2 separate regions of the Homo sapiens genome follow, and region 2 is linked to region 1. Evidence: promoter capture Hi-C in 16 types of primary human blood cells and fetal thymus (Javierre and others, 2016). All regions are on one chromosome and are shown on one strand. The core of a region is centred on a gene start or on the middle of the fragment in contact, and the rest is flanking DNA. Distances in the headings are between cores, read along the strand shown.

Evidence for each region. Contacts are between HindIII fragments. The CHiCAGO score rates a contact against its expected background, and 5 or more counts as called.
Region 2: a fragment that was not itself captured here is called in contact with the fragment with the promoter of DEF6 in region 1 in 1 of 17 cell types (non-activated CD4 T cells); the score reaches 6.1 in non-activated CD4 T cells.

The regions. Positions count from the first base shown.
Region 1 is chr6:35,295,305-35,302,012 of GRCh38, reverse strand. It overlaps DEF6 (DEF6 guanine nucleotide exchange factor), which reads right to left and starts at 4,195. Exons shown (of 11, transcript NM_022047.4): 1 at 4,061-4,195. The coding sequence starts at 4,156. It overlaps ZNF76 (zinc finger protein 76), which reads right to left. Exons shown (of 14, transcript NM_003427.5): 14 at 6,028-6,708. RefSeq lists a silencer at 5,694-5,858. The HindIII fragment of the contact is 28,623 bases long and covers 1-6,708 here.
Region 2 is chr6:35,747,775-35,754,482 of GRCh38, reverse strand. It overlaps ARMC12 (armadillo repeat containing 12), which reads right to left. Exons shown (of 6, transcript NM_001286574.2): 6 at 5,404-5,945. The coding sequence ends at 5,613. Among named protein-coding and RNA genes, the nearest start is that of ARMC12, 14 kb to the right of the region's middle. The HindIII fragment of the contact is 5,130 bases long and covers 1,154-6,283 here.

The DNA.
Region 1 (6,708 bases), core at 2,946-5,445:
GCTCACGCCTGTAATCCCAGCACTTTGGGAGGCCAAGGCAGGTGGATCACCTGAGGTCAGGAGTTCAAGACCAGCCTGGCCAACATGGCAAAACCCCGGCTCTACTAAAAATACAAAAATTAGCTGGGCGTGGTGGTGGGCACCTGTGATTCCAGCTACTTGGGAGGCTGAGGCAGGAGAATCACTTGAACCTGGGAGGTGGAGGTTGCAGTGAGCTGAGATTGCACCACTATACTCCAACCTGGGTGACAGAGCAAGACTCTGTCTTAAAAAAAAAAAAAAAAAGACACAGCTCCTTTTAAGAGTTACCAAATGTATTCTAGTGGGTTACTAGAAAAGCATAACTACTATCATGGAGGAACACTGGAAATTTTAAAAGGTGGGAATCTTTGGATTAGCTGTGTCACCTGCTGAGAGCAAGAAGGGGCTGTAGGGGTTGGGTGTGGGCATCAAAGGAGACAGAGGCCCAGTTAAGGGAAAGGAGAGGCTGCATCATAGACCAATTTTACCTACTTGAGGTACAGAATTTATTCTTTAGTTTTGTAGGACAGCTTGGTGATCAACCCCCTGGTTTATAGATGAGAAACTGAAGATGGACAGTGACTTGCTTAAAGTCACCCAGATGGGGAGCAGTACGGATCCAAGCCTGCGTGGTTCTGAGTCAAGTGCTCTGCACATCATTAAATCATCCTCCCCTCCCTACCCACAAATCCTAGCCTGGGGAGACCAGTAGCACACAGGGGTCAGGACAAAGCTAATGATCCTAGCCAGCCAGCAGGTTTTTGGACTGGAGCTGTTCTTAACTTTTCCTCCACTAAGGAGAAGGTGGTTGTCCCTCTCCAGAGGAGGCAAAACCTGAAGCTCATTGATTCTCAGTGGGCAAGAGTCTCACTCTGGGCTCCAGGACTGCCCTGAATATCAGCTGGAGGTGCAGGAGACTGGAAGGCCCCTGTCTACCCTCCCTCCCTTCCCCCAGCTCCTGCCAGTCAAGGAGGAAGTGGTAGGCCTGGTGCCACCCAAAGATCCTCATCAAACCAGAGACACACTGCTCCATCTACATACCCCTTCACCCCACTGCCTGATAGTCAGTGGGGAAGGAGGCCAAATTATCAGCTGATCCTCCACTAGTTCTAAAATCAAAACTGCTCCCCTGGGTAAGAGGGTGTGTTCAGTAGGACACACATCATTCCCAAGGGCTCCCCTCTCTATAGCCCTCTGTCAGGATGGCTACCTTCCAAAGGTTTTTAGAGGCGGTTCTGGGAACCTTGCAAGAACTCACAGCCCTCAACTCCTGGGAAGTTTTGTGTTCAACCTAAATCCATCCTGGGCAGGAGTGCCATTCCTATTGGTTTACTTTCTCTGTTCTCAACCCAACTGGATGAAGCCATTGTACTTTCTACAAGAATTCAAAGAGAGAAAGAAGTATCTGGTTTTTCCCTCAAGCCTTCTCTTTTCCAGGAGAAACAACCCTACTCCTTGGGCTTTTCTCAGAGGACGTGCTGTTCTTCCTCCTACCCTCTGGCCTCATCGTGGGTTTGCCCAGGACAGCCACTGGGAGCCCGTCTACCAACACATTAGGGGAGAAGTGGCAAATGTCACGCACCGACACATCTTGCCCTGGGCTAGTGCAGGTCTCTTGCCAGGTTCCAACCCAGGACCCTAACGCTAGGGATGGTTTTAGTAACCAGCCCAGTGAGGTGGCTCAAGACTATAATTCCAGCTACTCAGGAGGCAGAAGCCAGAGGATCACTTGAGGCCAGAAGTCTGAAACCAGCCGGGGCAACATAATGAGACTCAGGCTCTAAAAAATAAAAAATAAAAAAATTAGCCAGGCGTGGTGGCATGTGCCTGTAGTCCCAGCTACTCAGGAGGCTGAAGTAGGAAGATCGCTTGAACCCAGGAGTTTGAGGCTGTCGTGAGCTATGACTGCACCACTGCACTCCAGCATGAGTGATAGAACAAGATCTCATCTCTAAAACAACAACAAAAAACCAGATTGACTCCAAGGTCTTTTCCCTCATCCCCAAGTCTTTTCTGGGGAGAGGTGGGCCCTGCTTGTATAACTCTCTCGTCTGCTTCCTCCTTTGCCTTTTGACCACTTCTCTATTACTCCTTTGCTTTGCTGGAATCCCCGCCCCCCAACACTATCACTACTTCCTCCTCTTCCAATATTCACTATTATGGGCTTGAAAGGAGCCCCGCCATTTCCGCCCCACCCCCACTTGGCCCCTGAGACTCCCACTGTTAGCCCAGGTTTCCAGAGTTGACAAGTTTTCTGTCAAGTAGGAGGGAACTCTATAATTGATCCTGTGTGACCAGAGATGTTGCTGGCAGTAGGTTCAATATGAGCTGTGATGAGGTACAGACAGTGGACAGTTCAAGCATGCAAGCTCTCCATGGAGTATTTCCCTAGAAATACGCAACCTGTGGGGATGAGGGAGTGGGTAGTGGCCCTTTTAGAGGGCAAGACAGAGGCTCAAGCTAGGAGGCTTTACTGGCTGATGGCACCAGGAAAAGGGGAGCCACTTAAAGGCTGTACTTTCCATGTGAAGGGCAGAGAGAGCCTGGAGAGGTCTCAGTGGCCACAGGTAATACAGAAGTGGAAAATGTTACCCTGGAAGCAAAAAGCCACGGGGGCTGGTATTGTCTGGCAAGATATTAAAGGGACAGGGTGGGAGGTAGGGGTGGGACACAGAGTTTGCAGAAATGGATTTTGGATGATCGACTTTTTTCCATTTATACTGAGGACCCAACCAAATGACATGATCTGCAATACAAGAGATTTAAATAGGATGTAAGGAAGAATCTGCCTGTTAGGAGGTTCTCCCTAGGTGACAAAAGATAGTAGTGGGCTCTCCTTCCTGGGGGAGTGAAATCATCTATTAGATGCTCACAAATCCAGGTAAGGAATTTAACATAGGACCAGTTTGGGATATTCAAGTTCCTCACATCCAAGTTCAGTAAAGTAGGGGGTTGGAACGGTGGTGGGGCACAATAACTGTTCTGTCCCATTCATCTCTCAGGTATCCAGCACCCTCTACCTCGGTCATTAAGAATGGAGGTTTCCTTGAGACCACACGTCTCCTTTGGAGGATGGGGCAGGGAGACACCAGTTTAGTGCCTAGCCACATGCCAGGCACAGAGCCTCACGAGGGGCACTCAAGTACTTGCAGAGTGAACGAAGGCACCCCTATGGCAGGTCCTAGAGAGCTGAGGCCTACCTTGCTCCTTTCCCCCAGTGTTCGCTGATTCTAGTGGCTGAGGGCCTTGCTTCCTCCCCACTAACTAGGGTAGGGAAGGCAGCACTACTGGAGGACTAGAGGAAGAGAGAGAAAAACTCCTTGGCCTCCCAGAAATTGTCTAGGCCAGATGATTGACTTCAGGACAATCATTGATTGGGATTTTCCTGGGCTTAGATTCTCCCCCTTCCCTACCTGAGGTCTCAAGGCCTAAGGTAAGTTTCCCAACCTGATATGTGTGGTGGATAGGGGGGTGAGCTGCGTAGCAGTATAATAGGGTCCTCAGTCCTCACCCACTCCGCAGCTCTGTCCCACCTGGCGGGCAGGGTTAGACAGGCCAGACAGGTTTGGGACTGGGGGCGGCCCCTTTATGCCTCTCTCAGCTCCAGAGGAAATGACTGCCAAGCACTGGCTAACTGTTTCTCTTGAAAGTCAGGAGGAAGCAGCAAGAAAGAGCACACTGCGTGCCCAAGCATGACTCTGTGGAGGTGTGTGTGCTCATCACACAGAGTCTGGGATGTGGCCTGGCTCCTGGCCCTCAGAACCCCATAATGGCCCTCAGAACCTCCTGGCCTCCAGTTGTGGGGCCCAGTTCTGCGCAAGGTTTCTGCACACACTTCACTAGGTCTCTGGAGGGTGGGCAGCGGCATCTACCAGGCTACGTTGGCCCAGTTACCCAGGACCAGCCCCCCGACCCCAGGCCCGGGACGCTGGATGGCTGGGTGCCCCTGGAGTGGCACAGTGTCCACACCTGGCTCCCAGGCGGCAGGGGCTGGTGTGGTGCATCTGCCGTCCTCCCCCGGGTCCCGGGTGCCCCTCACCTTGAGCTGGGACTTGGAGACTTTGCCACTCTTCTCCACGTCCAGCGCGGTAAAGGCGTACCAGATGGACTTGAGCAGTTCCTTGCGCAGGGCCATGGCTGAGGCGCCCGCCCGGCTGGGGGCGGCTCTGACACTAAGATCCGGTTTCAGGAAATGCAAACGGCTGCAGAGACCGCAGAGGTGCCGTGGTGGAGCGAGAGCACCACCTGCCTGCACATTGCGTGAGGCTCTGTGCTGTCGAGAACCCTGCCTGTTGTTCTGGCAGTGCTCAGAGGCTCCACTCCCTGCATGGGAACTGGGGACCAACTCTCCGAGAGCGGGAACCCTCGTTCTGTATCCACGTGGCTCCCGGGGCATGTGAGGCCCTTTTAGAAGCCTCCTCAGACCCGGAGGCTTCTGGAGCCTTCCAGGGCTCCCAGACGCAGCTTGCTGAGGGAAAAAGCAAGCTCATCCTGATATTGGGGTCAGACAGAGTAAAGGTCCAGTCCTAGTTCAACATAGGAGGCCTTGGGTAAGTTACTTAACCTCCTTGAGCAGTTTCCTCATTTGTAAAGCAGGAAAAATGCCTCCGTGTTGTAAGAATGTCTGAGAATGGACGTAAAGCACATAGTAGGCTCTGGGTAGAGCTTTTGGTGCTACTTAACATTACCATGGTGGTGGGACTCCATCCAAGTGGAAGGAAACAAAGGCAACATCACAAAGCTGGAGAAGGAAATGGGCCAGGGCACCTCTCCAGGTCAGGATGTGGCACTTGACTTGCTGGCTCCCTATCCCCTCAGCACTGGCTCTAAACGGTACTCAGAGCACTGCCCACTCTAGCCCCAGTAGCCCTGAAGACACTGGAAACTTCCTGAAACACATGGGGGTGAGCCTTGTGGTGCACCTCAACTTTAAGGGTCCCAGCAGCAGCAGGCTTGGGATTCAGGGCCCTCCATGTCAGTGCTTCCTTTCTTCAGATCCAGTGTCCAAAAGGACTGGGACACGCCCACACCAGGAATGGTGGTCACAGATGTTGAAGACATCTGCTCAGGCCAATTCTAAGACACCTCCCCCTACCCCCTAAGCCAAATAAAAATCCCTCCAAGTAAGGTGCTGGGAATACCTCCTGCCTGGAAGCACGCCCCCGCCCCTCTCTTCCCAAGGAGCTGGTGGCAAGAGTAAATGGGAGCTTTCTAGGCATCCTGGGAGAGGATGCCTGGATCAGAGGAGGGGGTTCCAATCCTAGGAGGCAGGAAGGGGTTGGGGCATATCCATCACAGCAGAGAGAGGAAAAGAGGCACCACCAATCCCTGCAATGTTCCTGTGTAGGCAGAGTCAAACCCAGAGCTTCTTCCCATCAAGTGCCTTCCCCTGTATCCCTTCTTCCCCCTGGAGCTGATCTGGTCTCACCAACTCACTTTTCAGTGGGGTCTGATTGTGGCTTTGAAATCCCACAGCACAGTCCTAGGCACCTAGGTGGGCACCCCCAGAGCTGGGTAATAGAGCCAAGACTTCAGCTCCAGAGGCATCAGACTCTGCTCCTTGAATCTCAGTAACCTTGGCAAAGGTGTCCCCCAGCCTCACTCTAACCTGGGGCTTTGCCCTCTTGGAGAAGCTGACTGTGTGATTTGGGGGTGGCTGGGTTGGAGGGGCTCTGACTACGTTTCACAAGAAAAGGCAGGAAAAGAGTTCCCCCAGCTCAATCACATGAGGCCTGAGATTCAGCCAGAGCCTGGAAGCAGCGGTCACCCTGGTCCTGTTTGGCTACCCTGGAGCCCACCTGCTCAGCTGTGGGCAAGAAGCCACCAGCAGCTCCTCAGGGCTTTATCTTATACTGGGCTTCCTTCCCACCTGTGTCCCTGGCAGGCCAGCCCCACCACTCTGGCACCAAGGCTGAGTGGGGTTTGTGCCAGGGAGACAGGGCTGATAGCCTGATTTGACCAACCCTGCCACCCGGGCCTAGAGCTGAAAGGATGGAGGGACCCAGGTGGAAATTTGGAACTTTTATTAAATACTCATTCATCCATGTGCCACCACCACCCAGAGCAGGAAAAAAATTATCAAAATGGAATTAAAAAAAACAAAACAAATCAAACCCAATCCCCAGCAGTCTATGTACAGGGCCACTCCCTGCCTCTCTGCCATAGAGAGGTTGGGGGGCAGCTGAGGAGTGGTGGGGGCTGGGCACCTTTTCTTCAGCCACAGGCCCCTGAGGAATTAATTGACTGTGGTGTCAGGAAGTCCCTGGTGCCAAGTAGCCAGGCATCTCAGCTGGCCTCCAGGGAGGTGGTTATTGCTGGGAGGGCAGGACAGGGCCTGCTCCACTGCTACTGGGCTGAAGAGCTGTCTGTGGCTCAACCCTACAGGGCCAGTCCCCATAGCAGCCCCAATCTCTACCTGAGAAGGGGAACAGACTGAGGGCCAGAAGGGTGTTCTTTAGGAGGAGAGTGGGCGCCCAGCTGATTTTGAGAGGCGGGTGCCCTGGTGTAGCCTGGCTGTTGTCAGCTCCCGAGGATGATGCACTCCCCTGATTCCAGCTGCCTGGCCCCCTTCTTGAGCAGGGCCCCCATTCCCTTCAGTTAGGCAGTTTTCTTGCTGTCTTCTCACCCCAGAGACCTATGTGGCCACCTTCTATGTGTCAGCCACAGCCTGGGCCCTTGGGGGCAAGA
Region 2 (6,708 bases), core at 2,469-4,968, 450 kb before region 1:
ATTCCATAGGGTTCTCATAACTCCTTACTAAACAATTCTTTGTTACTCCAATCCCCTGTTTTAATAATCATATTAAAATTTCCTGTTAAATTACTGTGAGGTTTCTCTCTTGATCAGACCCAAGCTGATACACAAGTTTTCTCATAATTTGTTACATGGCAGCAGATAATACACCACTCCCATCTGATCTTCCCACTGCCAATTCCTTTCATTACCATCAGCCAATTGCCATTATCATGTGCCTGCCCTGAGCAGGCTCTTCCTTCAAGGTTTTTTTTGTTTTTGTTTCTGTTTTTGTTTTTTTTGAGATGGTGTCTGGCTCTGTCGCCCAGGCTGGCATGCAGTGGCGCGATCTCCGCTCACTGCAAGCTCTGCCTACTGGGTTCACACCATTCTCCTGCCTCAGCCTCCCGAGTAGCTTGGGACTATAGGCGCCCGCCACCACATCCAGCTAATTTTTTGTATTTTATTTTTAGTAGAGATGGGGTTTCACCACGTTAGCCAGGATGGTCTCCATCTCCTGAACTCGTGATCCGCCCGTCTCGGCCTCCCAAAGTGCAGGGCATGAGCCACCACGCCCGGCTCTTCAAGGCTTTGGTAAGCAGTCAGATATGTCCTACTGCAGGCAGGCCAGGCACAGTGACTCAAACCTATAAACCCAGCACTTTGTGAGGCCGAGGCAGGCAGATCGCTTGAGGTCAGGAGTTCGAGACCAGCCTGGCCAACATGGCGAAACTTGGTCTCTACTAAAAATACAAAATTTAGCCAGGCATGATGGTGCGTGTCCATAATCCCAGCTACTCGGGAGGCTGAGGCAGGAGAATCGCTTGAACCTGGGAGGCAGAGGTTGCAGTGAGCCAAGATCGTGCCACTGCACTCCAGCCTGGACAATAGAGCAAGACTCCGTCTCAAAAAAAAAATTAGCTGGGCATGGTGGTGGGCACCTATAATCCTAGTTACTCAGGAGGCTGAGGCAGGAGAATCTCCTGAACCTGGGGATGCAGAGGTTGCAGTGAACCAAGATCATGCCACTGCACTCCAGCCTAGGCGACAGAGTGAGACTCCATCTCAAAAGAAAAAAACCACAAAGAACAAAAAACATATGTCCTACTGCAAAAAAGAATAAAAGAACAAGGTATATAAGATTCAAGCTTTAATTTGCCAAATGCCAAGTGAGAGGTTCAGATGAGAAGTGCTGCAGGGTGCACCAGAGGCTAGTATGCTTGAAAAAAGATCTAGGCTGCAGTGGGACGTCAACTTTGATGACACTAGAAGGCACAACCCAGTTGGAAGAAGAGGGAAGGCCATTCTAGCATTCTAGGCAGCAGGAAAGTTGTATCAAAAGTAAGCCAGGTGCGGTGGCTCATGCCTGTAATCCCAGCACTCTGGAGGCCGAGGTGGGCAGATCACCTGAGGTCGGGAGTTTGAGACCATCCTGGGCAACATGGAAAAACCCCGTCTCTACTAAAAATACAAAATTAGCCAGGCATGGTGGTGGCGCATGCCTGTAATCCCAGCTACTTGGGAGACTGAGGCAGGAGAATCGCTTGAACCCAGGAGGTGGAGGTTGCGGTGAGCCGAGATATCGCGCCCTTGCACTCCAACCTGGGCAACGAGCAAAACTCCGTCTCAAAAAAAGGAAAAAAAAAAAATGTTTGGAGGCATCTTCTCTTTATAATAGTAATTTAAAGAAAAAAAAAGAAAACATGTTTGGAGCAAGAGTACACATGGTATGATTAGGGCAGCAATGACTAGTTTGCTCCAGTTTGGCTGGAGCAGAGATGTGGCACAGTAGGCTTGTGGCAGGCAAGAGGATCACACTGTGAAGAGCCTTGAATGCAAAGCTAATTCATTTGGTTTCGTCATGTAAAAAAGGGGTCCAGTGACCACATCTTTGAGGACAAAACTCAACCTTTTGCTGAGAATACATTTATACCTGTCAGATCACGTGACTTTGCTTTGATGCCGAGAAAGATTTCACCATGGCAATGGGGAGCCCCTGAAGGTTTTTGAGAATGGTGCCATGTGTGATTATAAAATTAGCCTGGAGTGCGTAGGGCTGGAGAGGATGGAAACCAGGAGGAGGAAAAGTCAGGCCCAGTGTGGTGGCTCACACCTGTAATCCCAACACTTTGGGAGGCTGAGGAAGGTGGATTGCTTGAGCTCAGGAGTTTGAGACCAGCCTGGGAAACATGCAAAACCTCGTCTTTACAAAAAAAATACAAAAGATTAGCTGGGCGCGGTGGCACACTCCTGTAGTCCCAGCTACCCAAGGAGGCTGACGTGGAAGGACCACGTGAGCCTGGGAGGTCGAGGCTGCAGTGAGCTGTGTTTGCTCCACTGCACTTTAGCCTGGGAGACAGAGTGAGACCCTGTCTCAAAAAAAAAAAAAAAGAAAGAAAGAAAGAAGTAGGCAAGTCCTGATGTGGAGGACAGGGCAGTAGCAGTGGAAATGGGGGAACTAGGTGGATGTGGTGGGGAGGAGAATTTGAAAGTGATGCCCAACACCTTGTTGGTGACATGGGCACACATGGAGCTGGTCGAAAGGAAACGTCGGCATTTGACAAGTTCCACTGGGGTGGCTGCAGTGTATTCAGCAGCAAGAAGGAGCAGCCTCAGGCCTGAACTCAGGAGGGAAACAAGGGATGCTGATTCAGATCTGGTAGTGACTGCCCACTCATTCTGGGAGACAGTGACGGGGTTGGCCTCTCTATAGGCTCTGGCTCTTTCTCATCAGCCCATCCTCATCAAGAAACACCCTCCCTCTTCCACCTGAGTGATATGACCTTGGGCCAGGGATTAAGTGGGGACAGATTTCCTTTAAGTACTTCAGTCCTAAACTGGCCTCTAAAATCCAGAAGCATCAAGATCCTCCTCAGTTTCCATAGGTTTGGGCTTAGAATCCATGACCCACTCTTACGGGGCTTGGACCGAAGAATGTGAGGGCAAAAGAAAAGCTCAGTAGTAGGAGGTTCTAATCCTATTTCTGCCCTAGACCAGTCATGTGACCTTGAGCAAGTCACTTTTCCATTTTGGGTTTGTTTTCCTTTCAGGAAAATGCCAGGGTTGGTCCTGGACGAGACTAGTTTTCAAATCCTGCTTCTGAAGAACACCGGGAGCCCGTGGCTGGACCAGGTTCTTTGTCCTAGATCGAGCAGTCTCAGGCTGGGAATAGCTCCAACATTAGGTTTCTCTCCCGTAGCATTTTCTTAAACCGTTAGCAATCCTTACTGTTTCCCAGCAAGGATTCACAGATAAAACAGTGAATGAGGGCTGGGCGTGGTGGCTCACACCTGTAACCCTAGCACTTTGGGAGGCCAAGGTGGGGGGATCACGAGGTCAGGAGATCGAGACCATCCTGGCCAACATGGTGAAACCCCTTCTCTACTAAAAAATACAAAAAATTAGCTGGGTGTTGTGGCGCGCTCCTGTAGTCCCAGCTACTCGGGAGGCTGAGGCAGGAGAATTGCTTGAACCCGGGAGGCAGAGGATGCAGTGAGCTGAGATTGTACCACTGTACTCCAGCCTGGCGACAGAGCGAGACTCCGTCTCAAAAAAACAAAAAAAACAATGAAGGAACAACTGGGAAACGCAAATGAATGGGGAATTGGAAAATGGATGACCATATTTGGTTTGACAGTCTTCTTGTTTCTGGAAACTTCATGGTTATGGTGTTATATTACTCACACCATTGTTCTGGTTTCCAAAGCTAAGTTTCAATGACTTTTCAGCACGCTTCATAGAGGACTCTAGGACTCCCCAGTGCCCATAACCTGAAGAGACTGGAGAAATGCTGGAGGCAACACTCTCCAAGGACCTCCCCAGTGATGATCTTTTGTTTTCTCAGTGATGATTTCTTTTTTTTTTTGAGATGGAGTCTCGCACCTCTGTCTCTGAGGCTGGAGTGCAATAGCGTGATCTCAGCTCACCGCAACCTCTGCCTCCCGGGTTCAAGCAATTCTCCTGCCTCAGCTTCCCAAGTAGCTGGGATTACAGGTGCCCGCCACCACATCTGGCTAGTTTTGTATTTTTAGTAGAGACGGGGTTTCTCCGTGTTGGTCAGGCTGGTCTCGAACTCCCGACCTCGGGTGATCCTCCCGCCTCAGCCTCCCAAAGTGCTGGGATTACAGGCGTGAGCCACTCTGCCCGGCTTTCTCAGTGATGATTTCATAGCTCCTCAGAGCCCATCTTTGAGGAATGCATGCAGAACACTGTGGCTTACGTTCGTTAACTCATATAATCCCCCTTTCATTTTCCCAACAGCGTCATGAAATCAGTACTATTATTATATGCATTTTATAGATGAGGGGCCTGAAGCTCAAATAGGGTTAACTGCTCCCCTGAGGTCACACAGTAAGTGACAGAGCTGGGACTGGAAGCGAGCACTCTGATTCCAGAGCTCCCTTTCTGACCCAGTATGCCTGCAGATCTCTGTCATTCATGCTGTCACCAAGGATCAACAGTTCTTCCTTGGACACGTGGAAAGAATGATCTTCCTCATCCCCTTTGGCTAATGAGATGTGAGCAGAAGTGATGACATTTATCACTACCACATTCCCTGTCCTTCTGTAATAGTTGTAGAAACACAATGAGGAAGCCTCCCTCAACCTGGGTCTCTGTGTGAGGATGTTGTGGAGTAGAGGCCTGCCCTTCCACCCCCACCGCTGATCTGCAATGGGCATGCAGTGTAAACAAGAATTAACATTTGCCATGTTTTTTTTTTCTTGAGACGGAGTCTCGCTTTGTCGCCCAGGCTGGAGTGCAGTGGCGCAATCTCGGTTCACTGCAAGCTCCGCCTCCTGGGTTCACGCCATTCTCCTGCCTCAGCCTCCTGAGTAGCTGGGACTACAGGCGCCTGCTACCACGCCCGGCTAATTTTTTGTATTTTTAGTAGAGACGGGATTTCACCGTTTTAGCCAGGATGGTCTCGATCTCCTGACCTCGTGATCTGCCCGCCTCGGCCTCCCAAAGTGCTAGGATTACAGGCGTGAGCCACCGCGCCTGGCCCCCTTTGCCATGTTTAAGCCACTGAGGTGTGAGTGTTGTTACTGTGGGATAGCCTGGCCCATCCTAACTAATCTAATGCTATACTGCGTCCTGTTGATTATCTTTGGCTTCAATCCCCAAGCCTGCCTTCTTCCAACCCCCTGAAAGCAATGGCTCCACATTGATTTGAAAAGCAGCAAGAGCCAGCCTGGCCAACATGCCGAACCCCACCTCTACTAAAAATACAAAAATTAGCTGGGCGTGGTGGCGGGCGCCTGTAGTCCCAGCTACTCGGGAGGCTGAGGCAAGAGAATGGCGTGAACCAGGGAGGCGCAGGTTGCAGTGAGCCAAGATTGTGCCATTGCACTCCAGCCTAGGCAACAGAGCAAGACTCCATCTCAAAAAAAAAAAAAGAAAGAAAAGCAGCAAGAGAAGAGGGGAGCTAGTCCCCCAAACATAGAAGTGGGGATGTGTTTTGAGAGATAAGCCCATGCTGTACCACACTCTGGAGCAGAGGTTATGCTGAATGAAATCTCCACCCAGCCCTGGAAGGCCACCAACAGACATTCGAGCTTCAAGAAACTTCAAGTTTCTCTCCTATACTCATTTATTGGCTCTCCTTAATTTTATTCCGTGTTTTTAAAGTAGGAACGACTGGGCTGGCAGGAGGAGGGCCGGGCTCTCAAGTCCTGGGGATACTGCAGGCTGACAATGACCTTGCAGGCCTGGATCTGAACATCTTCCTCAGGGTGGATGACCAGGGCAAGTAGTCGGTCTGCCAGTCGGGACTCTTCCCCAAAGAGGGATTCATGCAGGGACTGTTCGTTGTAATGCCATTTCACCACGTGGTAGTGGGGTGCGTTCCGGCCCTCACTCAGCCGCTCAGCAAACACCAGTACCTCATACAGGAGACTCCCTGACTGTGTGGGCTGGAACAGGTTTAGGAAGTTGGAGTGAACCTGTGATGGGAATAGAGAAAGAATGGGAATAAACTCCTAGGCAAGTTACAAAATTCTTGTTCTTGTATATTCCTATTGCCTAAACTCCCAAATATACCTAAATTTCAGACTCGAGTATATAGTAATTTTTTAGTTTTTCTTTTATTATTATCCTCTAATTTAATTGCCTTGTGATCATAAAACATGAGTGATATGATAATATTCATTCTGGAAATTTTGTTGAGACAAATTTTAAGGCTTAGTGTGTGACTAATTTTCTTAAGTATTGTGTGTGTGCTTGAGAGGACTGTGCATTTAATCCTTGTAGACTGTTCTGAGTATGTCTAATGGCTCAAGCTTATTTGTGTTATTCACTAAGAGTATATCCTCACTAATTTTGGCTTTTTAATCTATCAGTTGCTGCAAGAATGGTTAAAATATTCCAAATCTCCCACTGTAGTGGTATATTTGTTAATTTCTCCTTTCAATTTTTGTCGTATATATTTTGAGACTATGTTATTAGGTGCATACAAGTTTAGAGTTGCCCTACTGTTCTGGTGAACTGAACCACTGATTATCACAGAGTAACCTTTTCTATCCCTAATAATGCTCTTTGCCATAGTAATTTCCCCCCAATATTAAAATACCTACATTAACTTTTGTTTTGTCTCCTGTGTTCCTAACTCTCAGAGTTCAGGAAATGCCTCAAAGGGGGATCCCCCTCCCAATAAAATGGAGTCTCCTTCTACTGGGGGGAACAGAAGAGGCATGATTTTCAGTGCAT